Linked DNA regions of Homo sapiens: all the other regions are linked to region 1. The links are contacts of gene promoters, found by promoter capture Hi-C in blood cells and fetal thymus (Javierre and others, 2016). All regions are on one chromosome and are shown on one strand. Each heading gives the region's core, a stretch centred on a gene start or on the middle of the fragment in contact. The rest is flanking DNA. Distances are from core to core; before and after follow the strand shown. Region 1 holds the start of GALNT3 (polypeptide N-acetylgalactosaminyltransferase 3). Region 2 overlaps COBLL1 (cordon-bleu WH2 repeat protein like 1). Region 3 has its middle 62 kb from the start of SLC38A11.

What was found. The method cuts DNA at HindIII sites, captures the fragments that hold promoters and counts their contacts. A CHiCAGO score of 5 or more calls a contact.
Region 2: a fragment that was not itself captured here is called in contact with the fragment with the promoter of GALNT3 in region 1 in 1 of 17 cell types (naive B cells); the score reaches 5.1 in naive B cells.
Region 3: a contact is called between a fragment that was not itself captured here and the fragment with the promoter of GALNT3 in region 1, in 4 of 17 cell types (total B cells, naive B cells, neutrophils and 1 more). The highest score is 14.2, in total B cells.

The regions. Positions count from the first base shown.
Region 1 is chr2:165,792,033-165,795,886 of GRCh38, reverse strand. GALNT3 (polypeptide N-acetylgalactosaminyltransferase 3) reads left to right here and starts at 1,640. Exons shown (of 11, transcript NM_004482.4): 1 at 1,640-1,872. It overlaps LOC124906086, which reads right to left and starts at 2,301. Exons shown (of 6, transcript XM_047446887.1): 1 at 2,095-2,301; 2 at 1,550-1,968; 3 at 808-1,087. The coding sequence starts at 2,301. RefSeq lists silencers at 1,698-1,847, 1,918-2,007 and enhancers at 1,078-1,983, 1,984-2,890. The HindIII fragment of the contact is 5,078 bases long and covers 1-2,705 here.
Region 2 is chr2:164,835,471-164,839,324 of GRCh38, reverse strand. The region is part of intron 2 of COBLL1 (cordon-bleu WH2 repeat protein like 1); the gene reads left to right. Among named protein-coding and RNA genes, the nearest start is that of COBLL1, 4.4 kb to the left of the region's middle. The HindIII fragment of the contact is 169 bases long and covers 2,111-2,279 here.
Region 3 is chr2:165,015,229-165,019,082 of GRCh38, reverse strand. No RefSeq gene overlaps it. Among named protein-coding and RNA genes, the nearest start is that of SLC38A11, 62 kb to the right of the region's middle. The HindIII fragment of the contact is 1,743 bases long and covers 819-2,561 here.

The DNA of each region.
Region 1 (3,854 bases), core at 391-2,890:
ATTTTCCAAAGACTAACATTAACCTCTGGTTAGGGGTAAACGACAAAGTGGCACAACGAAGAAGAAGGAGAAGGAGAAGAGAATTTCAGTAGTTAGTATTTTCAGTTCTGGACCTGGACCTAAGGAAAAACACTGCCAAGTTAGTATATCAATACACACAAGTATCTCCTGAACTATTTTTTTGTTTGTTTGTTTTTGGAGGGAAAGGGAGCTTGGCAATTGCTTGTAGGTACTGATATTAAAATGTTGCAAATACATGGAGGTTCCTTGGTGCTCGCAAAATAACCATGACATGTAAAACAAGCAAAGAACTACCTAGTTTACTAAAGTCTTAAACCCTAACTCATAGATGTCCTAGTATAAAATAGCACTATGGATGCTAAAACCAATGTCTTAGAGTAGTCAAATACTAAAGATACACTTGTTGATACTATACTAAACTGTATTTTAAACCTTATTTTTAGGTCACGCATAGCACTAATAAAACAGTGAATAAGCACCATAAGAGCATGTCAAAATGTAGGAGGAAGGCCACAACTAAACTTCATAGTAAAACCTACCACCATGTGATTAAACACGACACCAAAAAGTTTTTAGCTAGTTTTCTATTTATATCCCTAGATATCTTTGGGATAGGGCCAAAGAAATGAGTTCATAGAAAGGTATAAAGGCCATTTTAAGTCCTGGTTTTGGGTGTGTCAATGTTTGTTGCAGCAGCAGAAGGAAGGCTGAAACAGAAAGTTGTGTCATAAATGGAACAAATACTGTTTAACAATTTTTTTTTGTCTTAAAAACAGCAAAACCCACCATCTTCCTGGAGTCTGCGTTGTTCTCTTCCAGAATAGATGTTGAGCTTTTAAACAAACCTGCAGTAGAAGCAAGCCCTCTCCAGGAAATCCCAATCTCTTTCCAAACAGGGACAGCAAAGGTTCTCTCTGTTGTGGCTGTTTTTCCCTCTCTTCTGGGAATTGGTTTGCCTTCTGAGAGCATCCCAGGAAGGGGAGGTGCGCCCCAAATTGGCGAGGCTCTGCCAAATACCAAAGGCTCTTCTTTGGAAGAAGACTCCTCCTTTGGACGTGAGGCGCCCCTACCAGAGCGCCCGCGTACAGAAACGGAAACCACTAGCTGCGCTGAAGTGAGTCAAGTGATGAAATCAAGACTACACGGGAAGGAAGCTCACGAAACCTAACTGGTGACAGAAGCTGCTGAACCCTGCCCGAAGAAACCACATGAGCCAGCAGTTGCTGCCCTCCCGAAGTGGTCCTCGGAGGCAGCGCACCCCTTCATTTTGGCGAACCGAGGAGGAAGGGAGGAACCGTGTGGGGGAAATCTAGAACTTCTGGTTCCCCAAGGACCCAGCAGACTGTGTTCTGGCTACAAGGTGATCACTGCCACCAGGTCAGTGCAGGATTCCTCCAATGTAGATGGGCCGGGAGCCACAACTTGCGCGGAGCAGCAGCCTCGCCGACCACTCAGAGAGAAGCCGCGCGACAGCCAGGCTTGGCCCGGACGGCGCCCCCACCCTGCGCGCGCGATCCAAGGTTCTCACCTGGAGCGCTCAGGTAGGGCTGGGGCGGGGCGGGAGGCTGGCGCGCAGGCGCGGAAGTGGGGCCTCGCCCCTGCCGACGTCGCAGGCTGGAGCTCACCTGGGAGACTCCAAGTGGAAGCCGAGCCTCGGTTCTGCCTCTCCAGGCAACGCGGGAGGCCCAGCGGGAAGGCAGGAGGCGGCGGCGGAGGAGGAGCTCTACTGAGCCGCAACTGTGGCGACAGCAACCGGAGTCGCAGCCGCCGCCACCTGCACCTGGCGCCTAGCCCACGTCCAGCGCCTGCCCGGCCGCCGCTTCCCGCCACCCTGCCCTGCCCACCCGCCAGGTAAGCCGGCGGCAGGCGGAGGGAGACGCGGTACCCCTGGGCTGCGTTAGAGCAGGCGGGAGGACGGCCGCAGGGGTTCACGTGTTGGGGACAGGGCTACGGTCCAGGTGGCCGGTTGGAGACGGTCTCGAGAGCAGTGTGTCGGTTGCCCCTGGAGAGATCCCGAAAGGGGCGCCCTGGGCCAAGGGGCAGGTGGCGCCTCGGGGGGGAGCCCGGTCACACCCTCTCGCCCACGGTGCCCCCGCCAGTCCCTATGGGGCGGCCCCTGAGGAGCTGGACGGAGACCAAAGACCTGGTGGCCCCGGACTTGCCCTTGGGAGGGTCGCAGCGTGGGGACCCTGAGAGGGAGGGCCCGGCGGGAGGCGGGCGCGCTTCCACTCCGGCTAGCAGGTTGCCTGTCTCCTCCAGCCTCTCTGCCCGAGAGGACATCCCGCGACAGCGAAAGACATGGCTTTGCCAGGCAACTTTCCTAGCCGGGGACCCCAAACAGTTCTAGGCTGCAAACCGCGGCCGCCGAGCCATTTAAATGGTTTCCGAGTGGTTTGGAAAGGGCTCTGTGGCCGGGACGCGGACACCCCTCTCTCTCTGTTTCGACTCTGCACTTTTCCGGGTGCGCTCTCCAGGCCAGAGTTGGGCCCACTTTCCTGATCAATGGAGAAGAGTTCTTTTCTTCCGTGGCGGGAAGAAATCCAACTGCCACGCACCAACCACTCACCATCTCGTTAGAGGACCTGTTGACTTAAGGACCTGCATATCGCGGCTATGGTTTGCCTGTGGCATATGACTCAAAGGTTCAAAAAAACATTGTTTCAGGATCCTGCCACGTCTAAGCTTGGGTGTGCCAGGCCCAGATTCCTTTCCCTGCCTAATTAGGCTTTTCTGAAGCCTAAGAATTGAGGGTGAAACTGGCGCTTACCTTAGACTTTTATTTCCTTCTCTTTCCAACTCATCAAAGAAACTATTTCTGTTTTAAGAACCCCATCGAGTTACCAATATTTCCGATTCTTGAAAACGTTAACATAACTTGCTATAGAAGTTACACTACATAATGAAGACATTTACAGTCAAATTCTATAGCTAAAAAATATTAAAGTGACAGCATTTTAATTAGAAAATCTCTGCTTGTGGGAAAATCTGTTGCTTCTTTTATTGTATATATTTTTCTTTGCGTTTGTGGCTAAAATCCATGAGGTTAAAGTCACACGCTGCCATTAGATTCTTTTTTTTAATTTAACTTTTAATATCTGAAATCTAGTGCACATGTTAAACTTTCCAAGCAATTTGTACCGAGAATCAATCTTTATATATTGCTTTAACCAACATTTTTACGTAGAAGTTTCTGATAATAATAACAATTCCATTGTTTTGTTCTATCTCCACACATTTTAAAAATATTTTTTAAATTGCACGTTTTACTTAAAATGCCTGATGCAACATGTAGTGGGGTTATTTTTCTTCTTCTTTTTAAGATTAGATGGAAATCTAAAAGCCAACCACAGCATAACATGATGTAATTATTAATTCAATCACCACTTTTCTACATTTCTTAAAAGGATCTCACCTGACCTCTTAATCTTGTCTCCATACAGAGAAACAAATGTGCTAAATACTGTTTAAATATGAGATATAGGAGTTGTTCCCTGAATTTTGAATATTAGTCTTCATTACTTACTAGGCAGATGTTACCAGACTGTCTTTCCTCTTAACCTCTAGTGAGAAATGTAACATGTTTTCATTAGCTAGAGTAACAGTGTAACTTAATCTATCTGTTAAATAGGAAAAATAATACTTTCCTAGATTAAGATAACAAAACCTTAAAAACAATCAGGAGTATCTTCCAGCCCTAGCATTCTCGAGATCCCTTTCTCACTTTGGAGATTCAATACTCAAACCATCCATTTATGAAAAATTGAAGCCAAGAGAGGTATTCTAACTTCATTTCACTCAGAGATGGCATGATCATTCCAGTGGCTTGACTCATG
Region 2 (3,854 bases), core at 946-3,445, 960 kb after region 1:
CAGTGCGCCCAGCCACTTTTGAGAATTTAAAGGTTAAACTGATAAGTTCTTTGCTTAAAAAGAAAGTACAAAAGAGCCTTATCTAATTTGTCAAGCATTTGTAAAGGACTTTTGCCGTCCCCTTTTCAAATTTAAGTAGGGAAAATCTGTCAACACCTTATCTAAAATAACACAGTAGTTCTATCATTTTGCCTTACATTATTCTACTCAGAGAAGTTATCATTACCTGAAAAATATCAACATGAAAAAATTACCTCTCTACTTCATTTGTCTTATTTCACTTGTCTAACTTGTCCTTTGGCATATTCCGAATGCCTGTCATATAAGATTTGTTGAATATTTAATATTCAGTATTGCTTCTCTTCTCTCTCAAAAACCCAAATTATAAAAGGTTTAAACTGGGGGAAAAATATCTAGATAAGGGTATTTGGGAAGTGGCAGGCAGAAATCTTAATATGTTATAATTGTTAGGTTTTGGAGATAAATTTCTTGCTATAAAACTGACTAATTATATCATAACTCATTACTTTAATAGACAATGAAGCCTAGTTTAGTCTTTATCCTTGGATATTACTGTTGGAAAGAATTCCTCTGTAATTTTCCAAGTTTTACATTGTTGTAACATGTCATTTTAACATAGCACCAAGTTTTGTTCTCCACATTTTATAAATGAGAATCTGAAGCTCAGAAACACTGAGTGTGTTGAAGTCCCAGCAAATTAGTAGTAAAACCAGAAGAAAAACTCCAAGTGCCTAGTTCATTTTGTTAATTGCTTTTTATCTTTTCTTGACCATGGTATGATATAACATACCATGACGTTATACATTTTAACGGATAACTTATATTTAACCATTAACTCTGTAATATTTTAATACATTTCAGGAAAAATGTAGTTGATATCCTTATCTTCACTTTTATTAATTCTATGATAAATTAGCCCATTCAGGGAATGAGTATTTTAGGAAAATAAAATTGTTTTATGGCCTCTCAGCTGCTGCTTTTTCTTTGAAACATTCTAAATAATAATTGTAACATCAAAAGGGATAGTTTGAAGTTTGTTTGGTGCCTTCACACATTTAACTCGCATTTAGCATTCTACGACATTGTGAATTATATGGGTTGGGTGTCATTTTCTTTTCAGTGGAAGCAATGGTGTGCAGAAATAGTGGCTGCCGTAGGGTCTGTGCTGGTGAAGTCCCTGCCTTAAAAGGGTCTGATCCTGTGGTCATCTTGAATGTCTTTCATTTTGGCCTCTACTGTACTGCTTTAATCCCTTACCATTCTAGATTAGATCCCTTTCTTTTGAGACAGGCTGGAGTCTTGCTATGTTGCCCAGGCTGACCTTGACCTCTTGGGCCCAAGTGATCCTCCCACCTCAGCCTCCTGCATGGCCGAGACTACAGTCACAAGCCACTGTGCCTGGCTTTAGATCACTTTCTTAGTAACATGCAGAAGTATCCACTTTATATTTGTTGTTCTGTATCTTATGGGCTTCTTTTTGGAATTCGTTATGAGGTTAAGAGTTTAGATATCAAAAGACATTGAGTCACAACAGTTTCGGTTTTCCTTCGAGAAAAAAGATTGCATGCAACTTTATATATATTCAAATGTAATATGTACATTCATATATAATTACATATTTTATGTATACTATACATATACATACATATATACTCCTATCTAATTCATGTATATATGTTTTCATATGTATGTGAAAGTTGACTGGTTTAACTTACATAGTGATCTAGATGAAAAATGATAAATCATTTTTATATTTGTTTCTATGAAGTGGAAATCCTAGGTTGGTTTGCGTTTTTTTTTTGCAGAGAGCAAAAATGTTGGAGACACTGGTTGGAAAATTGAAATGCTGCATTGGAGAAGAGAGCGATAGTCAAAAGTAATTTCCTTCTCTAACGTGGATATCCAATTAGTAAATTTATTTAAGTTTTCTATATTAGTACTTAGTAAAGTGACATTAATCACTTAGAAAAAGCAACATGATTGCTGACATCAACTTGGGTGCTTATCTTTGGAACTAGTGCTTATGTTCTTTACTTGCCCAGATATGCTTTAAAAAAAAAAATCCTTCGAAATTTAAATGTCAAAAGCTTAATTGACCTTGCTCTGAGGGATCTTAATATTTTGATTCTGAAGCACATTTTCAGGAATGTACAGAGGGGACAAAAGCTCTCTTTATCATTTTGCAGCTTTGGAGCTATGGAGTTAATTGAAGGCATACGAAAAATTAAAGAATGATTTAACAGCTGCTTTCTTAAGCTTTTGTTGAGGAGTGTTATTGGTTCTAAAGTTTCACTGATTGTATGAACTGAGTTCTTGAATACTTGAAGTTGAGTGACTTCTCTGAGGTTTCAACATGGGAGTCATCTGGGATACTTTCACACGAATTCTTGGGCTCTCATGCCCCCACCCATTCTGATTTTAATTCTCTTGGTCTGGGACCAGGGGATGGCTAGTTTTAAAATGCTGCTCAGGTGATTGTAGTGTGTGACCAGATTTGAGAATCATTGATTAAGTAGATATCAATAGCTGACATGGAGCTGATGCAAAAAAGAGAATAGAGGCTGTTACTAATCATTTATAGGGAACTCAAGATTGTAACTTTAGCATTATTTTGCCTTTTGAAAGATTCCATGTAGCTGCTTTGCAATATTATTTTTAAAGCTTTTGCTACTTCTTTTTGAATAAGTATATTAACTTCATTTTACAATGAATGAAACTGAGGATCAGAGAGCTTAATTAACACATTGAAGGTCATACAACTCTAAGGAATGGAAGAGTATTAGAAACAAGCTCTGATTCCAAACCTATGCTTTTCATAGTGCTATGTTTGCTACCATGGATTATACTGAATGGCTAAAAATGATTTTTATTTAAAGTGGCCTTATAAAAGCATTATCTTGATTCTTTTTAAAATTATGTTTACATTTTATATTTAAAAACTATAAATTTCAATGCATATAAAATGTCTAGCATTTAAAAGGAGATTAATTATTTGGCTTATGTCTTCAAAGTAATGTGTAACATATTCCTGTGTATGGTATGATGTAATTTAACTCATAGTAAACTGGCAGTTTTTTTCATCATATGACAAAGTCTATACTTATTTTTTGATATTAGGCAGCTATTAAATGTATAACAATATTTCAAAAGTAGGATTTTTGATTACTGAATAACAAAAATGAAATTATTTATTAAAAATGCTATACTTGCCCTTCAAAATCAATTACCTCTACATGAGTTAGAGGATATTGAATAACAATATTATGACCTTATATTTGTACTGAAACGCCAGATGTGTTAATATAATAATAAATGCCAAACTTCATGTTATTAAGACAACTACTTTTAATTAATCAGTCAAAAACTCCTGAACTCTTACTTTATATAAAACATATTTTTCTAGGTACTGGGAAATAGGCTTCTAATCTTAAGAACTTCACTACAGAAATTATATGTATCTGTAGGAATAAAATGAACATGATGTTAGTGTATAAATGGTACTTTGTTACTGGCTTAAAACATTATGTCTATGCTTAGAATTTAAAATGCAACAGCCTAACTTATGGGTCAGCAAACTATGTCCTGAAAGTCAAAACAGCCCTCTACCTGCTTTTTTATCCCCCTTTTTCTCCATTGTGGTAAAATATGCATAGCATAAAATTTACCATCTTAGCCATTTTTAACTGCATGGTTCAGTGGTGTTAAGCACATTCATATTGTTGAACCATCACCACCTTCCATCATTATAACTCCTTCCATCTGGCAAAACTGAAACCCTATACCCATTAAACAATAACTTCCCCATTCCACTTTCTCCAGCCCCTGAAAACCAC
Region 3 (3,854 bases), core at 441-2,940, 780 kb after region 1:
ATACACAAAGCTCTTAGTGTCTAAAGGACATTTTGCAGTTCTGAGAAAGATAATTATTCTATATTGGTTTTTGAAAGCTTAGAGTCTAGCAAATTATGTATAGGTTTTTCAGATATATACAAACAGTATGACCTATCTACACTTTGTTTAAAAAAAACTATATTCATTAAATATTGGCCCTTCTTACTGACCACTCATTATATTTTATCATTATGTAAAATGCAGTAAGAGCAATACGCTAGGTGCCGGACAGAGCTGCAGATCCAAAGTAATTTTTTAAATGGAAATTAATTCAGCAGTCTAGGGAAATACTATTACAAGCAATGCCCTGCTGAATCTCATTAAATCAATTTGGAAAGACATATAGTTGGAAAGGTAAAAATAAATCAATAAGATTAAAAAGGAAGTCTATGCTTTACAGAAAAGAGAGAGAAAGAGAGGAGTTATATTATCTGGTTGTTAAGTGACAGGATTTAAGTAGGACTGATTTGTCTCCCTTATAGGGAAAAGCAGTTTTCAGGACTAGAGCAAAATACTGTTTGCACATGGCCCAGTTTGTACAAACTGCATTTCCCTCGGCAAGACTTCACTCCATCTTTAAAAATGGAGATGAGCTTCCACCAGAGGAGCTATTGCCTAGCAACAAGATGCTAAGAAGGCGAAGGCGAGCTGAGTCCTCTCTATAAAGAGCTCCCTCTCCCTCTCTCTACCACACTGCAATGATTTCCAGTGCAGACTGATGCCCTTGAGGGAGTCACCTTAACGACCAGAAAGCTATAGGAAAAGAATTTTGCTAAGATCACGATAAAGTCTAAGCTTCTTTTGTTTTTCAGCAGACATTCGATGCTCACTCCTCTCTGTGCTTAGCCCTACACAAAGCATTTTCACAAACGTGTTTTTATTTCCTTTAAGCCCCTAGCTGTCACCAGTATTGAGTCATATGACTGACTAGCTGACTAGCTATAGACCTAAGATCTATCTGGTCTTACCTGAGATTGTCAAATGTTTGCTGAGAAGCACTGATGTCCATCATCTTTGCTATTGCCTCAAATGTTAAACTCCTACCCCTACGCTAAAATAGGCAGGGTGGCAAATCCTCTTTTAACCTCTTTTTCACAGTTTGAATAGTTCTCTGCTCCTCCTATTCCCCACTCCCACCATCTTGATAAAGATTCTAAGTATTTATTGTTTGTTTTTTAACGGGCTTCTACTAAGCACATAGTACTAAGTACTAGAGACAAAATTAGGAACAAGACATAGTTCCCATAGGAGCCTACAGAGGACCATAGGAGTAAACAGGAGAAGCACAGAATGGCCAAGAAAATCGAGAAGCAGTGGAGAAGGCTGCCCAGAGATGGCACCTGTACCCTGAGACCTGCAGTACCCACAGAAGTCAGTCTTGCAAAAGGATGGGCGTGGCTGGAAAGTGGCCTGGGATGATGGTAGGGAAAATAACATTCTGGGCAGAGAGAACAAAGGCAGTGCTAAGTGACAGGGAGCCTGAAGCCTAGGGAATATGTTACTTTCTATGCTGTAATTCAATAGTAATAATTTTTTCACAATATCCAAATTGACTCACTACCTTTTTATTGCCACCTAGGATACAGCCAAAGACCGTTCACAAATATGATACAAAAGCTATTGTTATTTCATCAGTGTTTTATTCAAACTGCATTTAATCAAAATGTGCTTCCGTATGTTTCAAAATGGCATCAGGGCTTGGACTACGCTCAAAACAATAATTCTTAAGTATATAGGACAATATAATAACGTGATTACTAAACAAATCTGTTGTCAAATTGTAACGACCGAAGAAAAATTAGAAAACGTATTCTGGGCAAACCAGATACAACTCTTGCAAAAGTCTGTATTCACATGTTCTTACCTATTTTTAGATACAGGTCTGATTCTTTTTTTAAAAGAACAGAGTAGGCAAATCAATAGACTAGGATTGTTTAAGGAGATACAAACAACGTGTGATTTAATTTTTGAAGAGGTGTTCTGAAAACACTACGCCCAAAATTTGAGCTTCGGGCTCTTCTGATTTGCTATTCAGGGGCTTCTACGCTGCCTCTCTGCTGCCCTCACGTGAAATGACAGTGTGTAGCAGCGCAGAAAATACCTTAAAAACAAACTCAGGACGACCTCAACGTAGAACTATGAAAAGGGAGAGATGGCGTGATGAGCACAAGCCTTTCTCACAGATTCCAGGAATCTGGATTTGTTGTGACTCAATCACTGTGCAGATGGGTTTCTACTGAATAATATTTTCAGGACTTGTTTCAAAGACAGGAGAGTTTTTTCAACATCAGAAGAGAGCTCAAAATGTATATTTAGAAAGAGGAAGGATGGAGAAGCAGGATTTAATTGGCTAATTAAGTCTCCAACTTGTACAATTACAGAACAATATTGCTCAGCCAAGAACTAAACCTTGCTACATTTTTTTCACCTTAGAAGTGTTACACCATTCTCTTGCTAGTGGAATGATGCACATCAGGGACTTCATCTAACCTTCCTTGTTTACTGAAGCTAAATATACCTACTTCCTTTAAAAGTAAGCTTAAAAAACCAACTTGTATTTCATACAAAATATAGAAGAAAATTTCCATTTTTGAGCTAACTTTTCCAGACTGCCCTTCAAATATGCCAATCCTTTCTTTTTTAAAAAATTCTTTTCCATGCCTTCGAGATTGTAGTCACTAAGTAGTCTCACAGCTTCATACTCACACTTCTATAGACAATTTGCAAATGGCTTCTCAGCCTCTTATACATTCAACAAACTTTGAATGTCTCCTCACAATTTGAAAATAAAAAGATATTTCCTTCTGTCCTGAAACCTGCTTCCATCCTGATTTTCCTATATTCTCTATAGTCTCATCATTTTTCCAGGCTTACCACTCAAAAGTTATTTTCTAATCTTTTTTTCTCTTTCCTCCATATTCACTTTCCAGCTAGTCAATGCTGGGAACCTTGCCATGAATTTACAATACATTGGAGGTTCCTGGAAAAGTAGAGGCTTAATACAGATTTACAGCATGTGTGACTTGATGGATGAATGCAAAGGAACAGAGAGATATTTCATAAGTAATCATAACTTTGAACAAAGGCTAAGAGGGTAAGTGTGCTATAACAGCGAAATGGAATCTAATTCAGGGCAAGAGTACAAAAAGGATAGGCTTCCATGATGAAGTGATTTTAGACCAATGTCTATAAGACAAGAAATTGGTAACTAATAAAAAGGAAGAGGAAAGCATTCCAGGCAGAGGGAATGGTCTGTTCTAAAATGCTGAGGTAAGAAGGAACTTGACATTATCATAAAACTGCCATATGGGCAGGGAGCATAAAGAATTGGCCAGAGTGGAGTGCTAGACAAAGTTTTTCTTTCCCTTGTTAAAATATTTATAATTTGTTCTGTTTCATTCTTAATTGAATTTGAATGTCTTGTAACAGGAAATACATATACCACAGGCCTCATCATATTCTATAGTTTTATGAGCAGGTGGATCATTCGTTCATGCAAACTGCCTGTTTCCATAAGTATTCAAGGTTAAAATTATGTCTTAGGGTCCAAGTGATGAGATTTTATCCTAACAGCAAAGAAAGCCATGGAAGAGTTTTAACAGGGAAGTGACACATTCTGATTTGAGTTTATAAAATACAGTAAAATTCTTTCCGAACACAGTAGGTGTAGTCCAGAATTTTTCACTACCATTAAATGTAGTGTTTGGTTATGGTGAGGTTAACTAAGTGACCTGGATGAGCCTACAAGAACAACAGGTTGTGAGTTATGGGAGTCCAGAAGAGCTGTCCAAATTCCTGCCAGTCAGGGTCTGCGTGCTGGCTTCAGCCTGGCG